Regions from separate parts of the Homo sapiens genome. Here region 1 is linked to region 2. The links are contacts of gene promoters, found by promoter capture Hi-C in human tissues and cell types (Jung and others, 2019). All regions are on one chromosome and are shown on one strand. Each heading gives the region's core, a stretch centred on a gene start or on the middle of the fragment in contact. The rest is flanking DNA. Distances are from core to core; before and after follow the strand shown. Region 1 overlaps GTF3C4 (general transcription factor IIIC subunit 4). Region 2 holds the start of UCK1 (uridine-cytidine kinase 1).

Evidence for each region. The method cuts DNA at HindIII sites, captures the fragments that hold promoters and counts their contacts. A contact is called where the count stands out against the background at its distance.
Region 1: a fragment that was not itself captured here is called in contact with the fragment with the promoter of UCK1 in region 2 in 1 of the 25 tissues and cell types used here (hippocampus).

Annotation. Positions count from the first base shown.
Region 1 is chr9:132,687,934-132,692,056 of GRCh38, forward strand. It overlaps GTF3C4 (general transcription factor IIIC subunit 4), which reads left to right. Exons shown (of 5, transcript NM_012204.4): 5 at 948-4,123. The coding sequence ends at 1,012. Among named protein-coding and RNA genes, the nearest start is that of GTF3C4, 20 kb to the left of the region's middle. The HindIII fragment of the contact is 5,405 bases long and covers 1-4,123 here.
Region 2 is chr9:131,529,799-131,534,026 of GRCh38, forward strand. It overlaps UCK1 (uridine-cytidine kinase 1), which reads right to left and starts at 1,465. Exons shown (of 7, transcript NM_031432.5): 1 at 1,269-1,465; 2 at 688-847. The coding sequence starts at 1,376. RefSeq lists an enhancer at 622-1,535 and silencers at 951-1,000, 1,201-1,560, 1,701-1,870. The HindIII fragment of the contact is 11,870 bases long and covers 1-4,228 here.

The sequences.
Region 1 (4,123 bases), core at 568-3,067, 1.2 Mb after region 2:
TACAGAATATACAATTTTATATGTATTTTGAGGGGAATATTCTATTCTCAGCTGAAACAAACAGCATTCTATATAAAACTACATAAATTCTTGAGCTTTGCTCTAAACTGGCAGAAGCTCTCTAATTCTCATAAGTTGGTATGTTGATACCTTGTGTTCTGTTGTAGCTTTTTATTAGGGAAACAACAATCATACACAAAAGGAAAGAGAAGGGTATAATAAACCACTGTGTGCCCATCACTTCAGAAATTATTGACTCATGGCCTTTTCTGTTTCATGTGTAGTTCCCTCACCCACCTCCCTCCTCCTGATGGATTATTTTGAAACACATTTTTGGGAACTTTTAAATTTTTACTGCAATTGATAATGGATATGCTGCTTAGGCAGGAAATCTGGAAGAGATTGAAACTTTAAAAATCTTACCCATTGACTTTGAGTCTAGCCATTTAAAGCTTTTGAGAAGAATGAGAAGCTACTGGATCTAAGAAGAGCACTGGAGTAGAGTTTTTCATAGATGAAAGACGAGGAGGATTTGACCAGTGTTGCCGCATTTTTATTTCTCAAGGGCATAGCATTTTTTAAAAATTCCTATTACTGTAATTTTATGAGAGAATATTTTAACATTAACAATGTATGAAGAACACATTCTCGGAATATACTCCTTTCTTTAAATTGAATAAATTTAGCTTTATGAAACATTCTTCATTACCCTTATTTTCCTGTTTCATTACATTTAACTTTGTGAACCACAAGTTTAGTCCAGCCTCATTTGGAATGATAGAAACCGAAGCCCAAAGAAGTGAAGTGCTTTGTCTAGGGATATGTAGCTGGTTTATTGCAGAGGTGGGACCAGAATGCCCGTCTCTCAACGCTACAGTCCGGTATTCATCCCTTTTGACTGTCTTTTCCGAAGCTAACAGTTGATACCACTTGTCCTCCTTTTGCAGATCCCGACTGGATTAAGAGGTTACTGCAAAGCCCCTGCCCTTTCTGTGATTCTCCTGTCTTCTAAATAATCAGTGACGGGAAGATGGAAGGGCATGATGAACTCTGCCATAGAAAACTTCCTCCAGCCTGAAGAGAAGGATGCACTGGAGGAAGCCGGACCCTCACGAGTGGAGAGAAGTCCTTGGTGATTGTAAAGAGGGCCCCTGGAGCTCATTTCTGAATCGCACTCTCCATTTCCAGAGACTAAAGGATGTCCTTTGAAATGGCTGGACTCAGAGAGTTGGAGTCGTTTTGAGATGAGCATTAGCCCCAGCTTTGTAACCAATGAGGAACACTTACTTATTTTTAAGTATCTTGACAGAAGCAATTTGAACACAGTGTCCCGTCATTTCTAGAAACAGAATGGTCTCTTCTAGAGAGCTTGGATAAGGACCTTGCTGGGTTGAGTTAGGTTTTAATCCTTGCTTTGGTTTGGAACTGCCTTCGGGCTCCAGAACTTAAATTGCTTGGTCCGTGGCATCTGATGTACCAACAGAGATTAAAAGTGTAAAGCAACACATGGGCTGATGTTTTGTTCTCAGAAAATAGCTGCTGGTCTGCATCCCTCCATTCTTGTTTTTTATGCATATGGAAAACATTTTCCTAAAACTCTATATTCTTAAGTTGAAGCCAAGACTAAAATTTAATGTGTCAAATGATCTGGTGACTATTATAATGAATAATTGTGACTTATTTTTCATTCTCTCCTGGGTCATCAGGTTTCCTGACCCAACTCCTTAATCCGTATAAAGATGTCAAATACTGTAGTTCACCCACGCCACAGCCCTGCTTCAGACTTAACTGTGGTAGCCTAGATGAGCTATTTGTACACAGAGGAAAAAAAGATATTTTCCTCTTTTAGTAATAAGACTTTCAGTATTTTTAATGTTGACATTTCCAGATGTTTCATTTAGTATCCAGGGGTCTGTCTGGAGACTTCTAGAGAGGGACAGCTCAGAAGTGAGACCCTTGAGCTCTGGTGCTGTAAGCTTGTGCAATTAAGTTGAACAGAGCCTGGGAATTTCTTTCCTCTGCACAGTCCCTTGATATTTGGAATCCAGGTTCTGCCCCCAACCCCTACCCACCCAGTGGTCTGTTAAGATGTCTCAGATGGGGCTGGGCTTGGTGGCTCATGCCTGTACTCTCAACACTTTGGGAAGCAAAGGCAGGCAGATCACAAGGTCAGGAGTTCAGCCTAACCAACATGGTGAAACCGTGTCTCTACTAAAAATACAAAAATTAGCCAGGCGTGGTGGTGCACACCTGTAATCCCAGCACTTTGGGAGGCCGAGGCAGACGGGTCACTTGAGGCCAGGAGTTCGAGACCAGCCTGGGCAATATGGCGAGACTCCGTCTCTACTACAAATACAAAAGTTAGCCTGGCATGGTGGCGCATGCCTGTAATCTCAGTTACTCAGGAGGCTGAGGCAGGAGCATCACTTCAACCCAGGAGGCAGAAGCTGCAGTCAGCCGAGGTGGCACCACTGCACTTCAGCCTGGGCAAGACTGGAGACTGCCTCAAAAAAAAAAGAAAAAAAATGTTGGTACTTAGATGATACCATGACGGCAACCTCCCCACCCCCACCCCGCATTGATAGGTAGTGCAGACCAGCCCTTGGAGGCACTTCTAAACAGTCTGCTCAGAAATGTTTTCTGTTTCCTATTCAAATTGCTGTTTTGTCTCCTATGTTTAATCATGTATTTGCTATTCTGCTTATTTTTCTCATTTGGTGGTAATTTCAAGAAGAGCGTTTATCCACTATTGATTTTCAAGAAAGAAACCAAGCAGCATTGAAATCATGAGTAACAGAATTCAGAACATTGTATGGTGGAAGTCATTTGTGTCTGCAGCTGTTTTTTCACTTTACAATAAATAAGAGTAAAAATTGAGATCATGTCAAAAAATTATTGCAGTTTTAATCATTATGGCATAGTTTCACTTCCCCTCCCCCCATTAGAATCAGTGGAGATTTGTTCTTACTAGGGAATTTTGGACTGCTGCCATTTAAAACTTAGGTTTTTATTTAAAGCAGTTGTGCATTTTTGAGAAAATGTATTGGGAGTAACTAGAGAGGATCTCCCAAATTTTTTTGTATGTCTCTCTAGGAGTAAACATGGCAACAGTTTTTCTAGAACGTGGACTCACTGCAGGGACTGGACCCAATGGCATTGTTAAGACCCTAAAATCTAGCCACCACCTGCCTCCCCCAGGTTTCCACACACCCAGTTGGAAGGCCTTTCCCTGCCCTTGTCCCTGTCTCACACCCATGGAGGTTAAGCTACAGAGCTGGGGAAACAGGAGATTTTGAGTTAATGGCAGCCTCACAAATAGTGCTTCTGAATTTCTCTGAGGGTCAGCATACCTCATGGGAGTGTGTTGCTCAGTGCAACCTTGGAAAAGTGGGAATGGCACCAGACGTTTTTCAGGTGCCTCTTGCAATTCAAACTTACATCCTCTATACCGTCCTAAAATTTGCCTGATCTTATTTGGTAGATTTCAAGTTGCTTTCAGCTGTGACCGTAATAACTGTTTCAGGAACTGGAGAAATAGTGGAAGTGCTATTGCCGCGCTGCATGTAAAGCACAGGAGCAAAGATTCGATACAATTAGACCCTTTAAGCTACAACGTGGTTGCATTTGGGGAGTCTGATACCCACATAGGTATCACATTTTCTCTGCCTGGGGTTAATTTGTTCTTATTATTCTAGGTAAGAAATTGATAGCTTGTTATGCTTGGTACTCATTCTGAAATCCCTGTGTGTCCACCAGGCAGACTTCAAGCAATCTCTACCTACTATTATATCTGCCAAAACTACCAATTATTTTTCAATGTCAGAAGTTATTAGAGCCACTGGCAAAGCTCATGGTTGAATATGACATTTTTCTGCTTTTCCCTCTAAGAAGTTTTTGAGAATGTTAATGTTGAAGTATGCAGGCTGGACCTACCAGCAAGTTTAACACGTTAATTAGGTTAAAAAGAATATTAAAAGGCAATAATTAAATATTTCAATTATTTTGTAATTATAATGGTATCAAATAAGATGCAAAAGAAGTTGATGCTTATTGGTGCTTAAGAGAATTACAATACTGGTTTTATGAGCATCTTTTCTCTGCAACAGTTAAACTGCCTCAGAGT
Region 2 (4,228 bases), core at 215-2,714:
GCTGTGCCACTGCCCAAGCTCTGTGCCCCTGAGATGCCGGAACACAGGGGTTTTCTGATCAGCTCTTCCTGGGAGGTGGGTAGGCTGGGCCTCTGCTTCTCTCTCTTTCTGGGACTAACTGGTTAGACTGCGGCTTTGCAGGCCTTCTTCCCACAAGTCCTTGGGAAAAGGCTGACCATGCCAGCCAGCCAGGGTGGAATCTTCTAGCAGTGGCAGGTGTCTCCCTGCCGCATCTGCCCGTTTACCTGGCCCGGAGCTTCAAGCCACCAGCACTAGTTTACCTACCGCCTCCCACACTGGCCTCTCTGAGGACTTTGCCCCAAAGCACGGGAGGGCACAGTGGGCAGAGGTGTGTGTGGAGGGCCCTAAAGGCCCCAACGTGGGAAGGGAAGATGGGAGGATTTCTCCAGGATCACAGTTGTGGCAGGGCAGGGCAGGGCTCCCCACAGTGCAACAGGCTTCCTGACTGGCTCCAACCACGCTCCTGGGGGGACACTCAGGGCCCAGAGAACTCAGCAAAGTTCCCCTGACTTCACTGTGCAGCCAACTCCACTGCAGGCTGCGTGGCGAGTTGGGGGAACAGCCCAAGCGGGTCTGCATCCATCCAACCTTGGGCCCAAGCGCAGCTGGTTAGCGGCCGCCCAGAATGGGGTCTGCCCTCCCCACATCGTTGGGCTCGCGATTTACCTGGATGGTCAAAATTGTACTGTCCTTTCAAGGCCTTGGCCTTCTGCTCTGCCGTCAGGACCTTGTAGAACCTGTCCTGGCTCAGGATGACCACCTTCCGCTGCCGCTGTTCCACCTCGTTCTGTCCCAGCAACTCCATGATCTTCTCACACACGGTCGACTGGAGACACAGAAGCGGGATTCCCGCCTGGAACCGCTCGTCCTGTGACAGGCACGGGGCCGGCTTCTGGAGACACTGACCCACCCGCCCCCTGGGGGGTATGCTCGGAAGGCGGGAGGACACCAACAGGTGTGGATGGTCTCAGCGGAAGGGCCGCGGGGGCCCAACGGGGTTAGCACGGACTTGGGGCTCCGAGGAGCCCGGCCGGCGGAGAGGCTGTGGGGGAGCCCCGAGGCCCAGCGCCCCAACCCCTCGCCCGCCCCAGCCCGCCCCGGCCCATCGCGGCCTGCAGCCCCTTCGCTCCCGCGCCCTGCCCCTGCCTGGCAGGGGGCCCCTCGGCCGGGGCTGGGGTCTCCTCTCTGGACCGGGCCGCCCGTAGGCACCGGCGAGAGGCGAGACCCCGGCCCGCTCGGCCCCTTACCTTCCCGCTGGCAGTGCCGCCGCTCACCCCTATCAGGAAGGGCCGCTGGTGCGGACGGTCGGCCTCCGGCGCGGGGCTCTCGCAGTCTTCGCCTCCCGCCGAAGCCATCTCGGCCTCCGCTCCCGCGCATCGGGTCCCCGCGCCCGCCCCTTCCCCAGGCCCGGCGCGCCCGCCCAGCGCCGAGGTCGGAGGCAACCGGAGCGATCACTTCCGGGAGGCGCGCGGGGCACGCCGGGAGTTGTAGTCCACCGGGGGGGGGGGGGCCGCGCATGCGTGAGGGTGCAGGGCCCGAGGCCGGCACACCAGGAGCGCCCGCGTCCCATTGCGCCGAAAGCTGGCTGGCAGGGACTGCTGCGCCCGGGCCTCGAGCCGGCTACAAGGTCTCAGACTCAAGTGGCCCGGAAGGTGCCCGTTCCGCACCCCGAGGCTGGGGCTGCGCCTTCGTCCGAGTGCTTGCCTCTGCCTCGCGCTGCCTCTGCGCCAGTCCCGGGCCCTCCCCCGGCCGCCCCCGGGCCTGGCCCCCTCCAGCCCAGGCTCCTCTTGGCCATCGAGGCCTCCGGACTGTCCGGACGCCTCCCACCCCACCCGCTGCTGGAGCCGTCGGGGCGCCCCGGAACGTGGCGGGGGCTGTCGCCTGATGACTTTAGGCTCGCGCCTACAGCGCGCCAAGGAGGCAGAGGCCCATGTGCCGGGTTCCATCCCTGCCGCCCCCCCGCTCCGTGCCTGGCACAGAGAACGTGACAGGCAAATTCTGATCCATTGAAATTATGGATTTCCAGCCGGGCGCGGTGGCTCACGCCTGTAATCCCAACACTTTTGGAGGCTGAGGCGGGTAGATCACGAGGTCAGGAGATCGAGACCATCCTGGCGAACACGGTGAAACCCCGCCTCTACTAAAAATGCAACAAATCAGCTGGGCGTGGTGGCGGGCGCCTGTAATCCCAGCTACTTGGGAGGCTGAGGCAGGAGAATCGCTTGAACCCGGGAGGTGGAGGTTGCAGTGAGCCGAGATGGTGCCACTGCACTCCAGCCTGGGCCACAGAGCAAGACTCCGTCTCAAAAATAAAAAAGAGAGAGAGATAGCTAAGGCTCGGGGCAGAGCATGCTTTTCATATACAAAACAGACAACCCCGGGCGGACGCGGTGGCTCACACCTGTAATCCCAGCACTTTGGGAGGCCGAGGCGGGTGGATCACGAGGTCAGGAGATCGAGACCATCCTGGCTAACATGGTGAAACCCCGTCTCTACTAAAAATACAAAAAATTAGCCGGGCATGGTGGCGGGCGCCTGTGGTCCCAGCTACTCGGGAGGCTGAGGCAGGAGAATGGTGTGAACCCGGGAGGTGGAGCTTGCAGTGAGCCAAGATCACGCTACTGCACTCCGGCCTGGGGGAAAGAGTGAGACTCTGTCTCAAAAAAAAAAAAAAAAAAAAAAAAGACCCCAAGTCTACAGCCCCAGCTACCTCCTTATCTAATTCTCGCCTTTGGAGGCAAGATTCTCCCTGCCCTAAGTCACCCAGGGCCAGGTATCAGGTGACTAGAGACCACTCTGCAGCCCAGAGCCTGCTAGAATTACTCAAACTAGCCAATTTTAAACTCTTTCCCTGCCCTGCCAGGCCTTTTCCATGGAAACCCCAAGAAAGCCTCAGGCCTGGGCTCTCCCCTCGCCCCTGCTTCTGCCTCCTGACCAAACCTGGGGTTCTCTACTGAGAACCGTGCATGGCATGGGTGCCCCTTCTCTCAGGAAATGCGATCAATCTTGCGATGGCTTTGGCCTCTCCTCATGGTCATTCAGCCGTACCTCTGTAAATTAAGCCCCAGGCACAGAACAGTGCCTAGCAAACAGCCACGCTGCTGGCTTAGATCTGTCCAGGTGTGTGTCCCAAAGGTGGCCATCCCCCAAGCCAACTTTGAATTTGTATCAAGGGAGAGTTAGACACGGTTTCTTGCCATTTCTTCCCCTGTGGTCCAGCCACGTAGCGAAAGGCAGGGAAACTAGCAGAGTCTGACCAGGGGCTGTCCCTGATACCCCTGGCCTGGGTCTCGTGTGCCCTCTCTGGTGACTGGCCACAAGGCATGGGCTGCCAGGGCCAGTCAGGCTATTGCGTGGTTCCGCTCCCAAGGCAAAGGGACGCTTTGGGAAGGAGCCACTCCCTGGGAGCAGGCCCAGCACCCAGGAAGCCCACAGTCCAGTAAACAAGGCCCGGGCCCACACGGCTCAGGCCTCTGGGCCACAGTGGCTCCCCTATGGGACCATCCCAACCACCACCAAGCAGAGGGCCAGCCCCAAACCTCTAGCTGGTCCCCAACTCCCCATATTGTGAAGAAGAGTGACTTTTATGGGTTTTTTTTGTTCGTTTTGAGACGGAATCTTGCTCTGTTGCCCAGGCTGGAGTGCAGTGGCATAATCTTGGCTTACCGCAACCTCCGCCTCCCGAGTTCAAGCAATTATCCTGCCTCAGCCTCCCCGAGTAGCTGGGACTACAGGCACCTGCCACCAGGCCCGACTAATTTTTGTATTTTTAGTATAGAGACAGGGTTTTGCCATGTTGCCCAGGCTGGTCTCGAACTCCTATTCACCTGCCTCAGCCTCCCAAAGTGCTGGGATTACAGGTGTGAGCCTCTGTGCCCAGCCGAAGAGTGTCCTTAAAGAAGCATGAGTCAGCCGGGTGCAGTGGTTCACGCCTGTAATCCCAGCACTCTGGGAGGCCGAGGCAGGCGGATCACTTGAGGTCAGGAGTTCGAGACCAGCCTGGCCAACATGGTGAAACTCCATCTCTACTAAAAATACAAAAATTGGCCGGGCACGGTGGCTCACGCCTGTAATCCCGGCACTCTGGGAGGCTGAGGCAGGCGACTCACGAGGTCAGGAGTTCAAGACTAGCCTGGCCAACATAGTGAAACCCCGTCTCTACTAAAAATACAAAAAATTAGCTGAGCACAGTGGCGGGCGCCTGTAA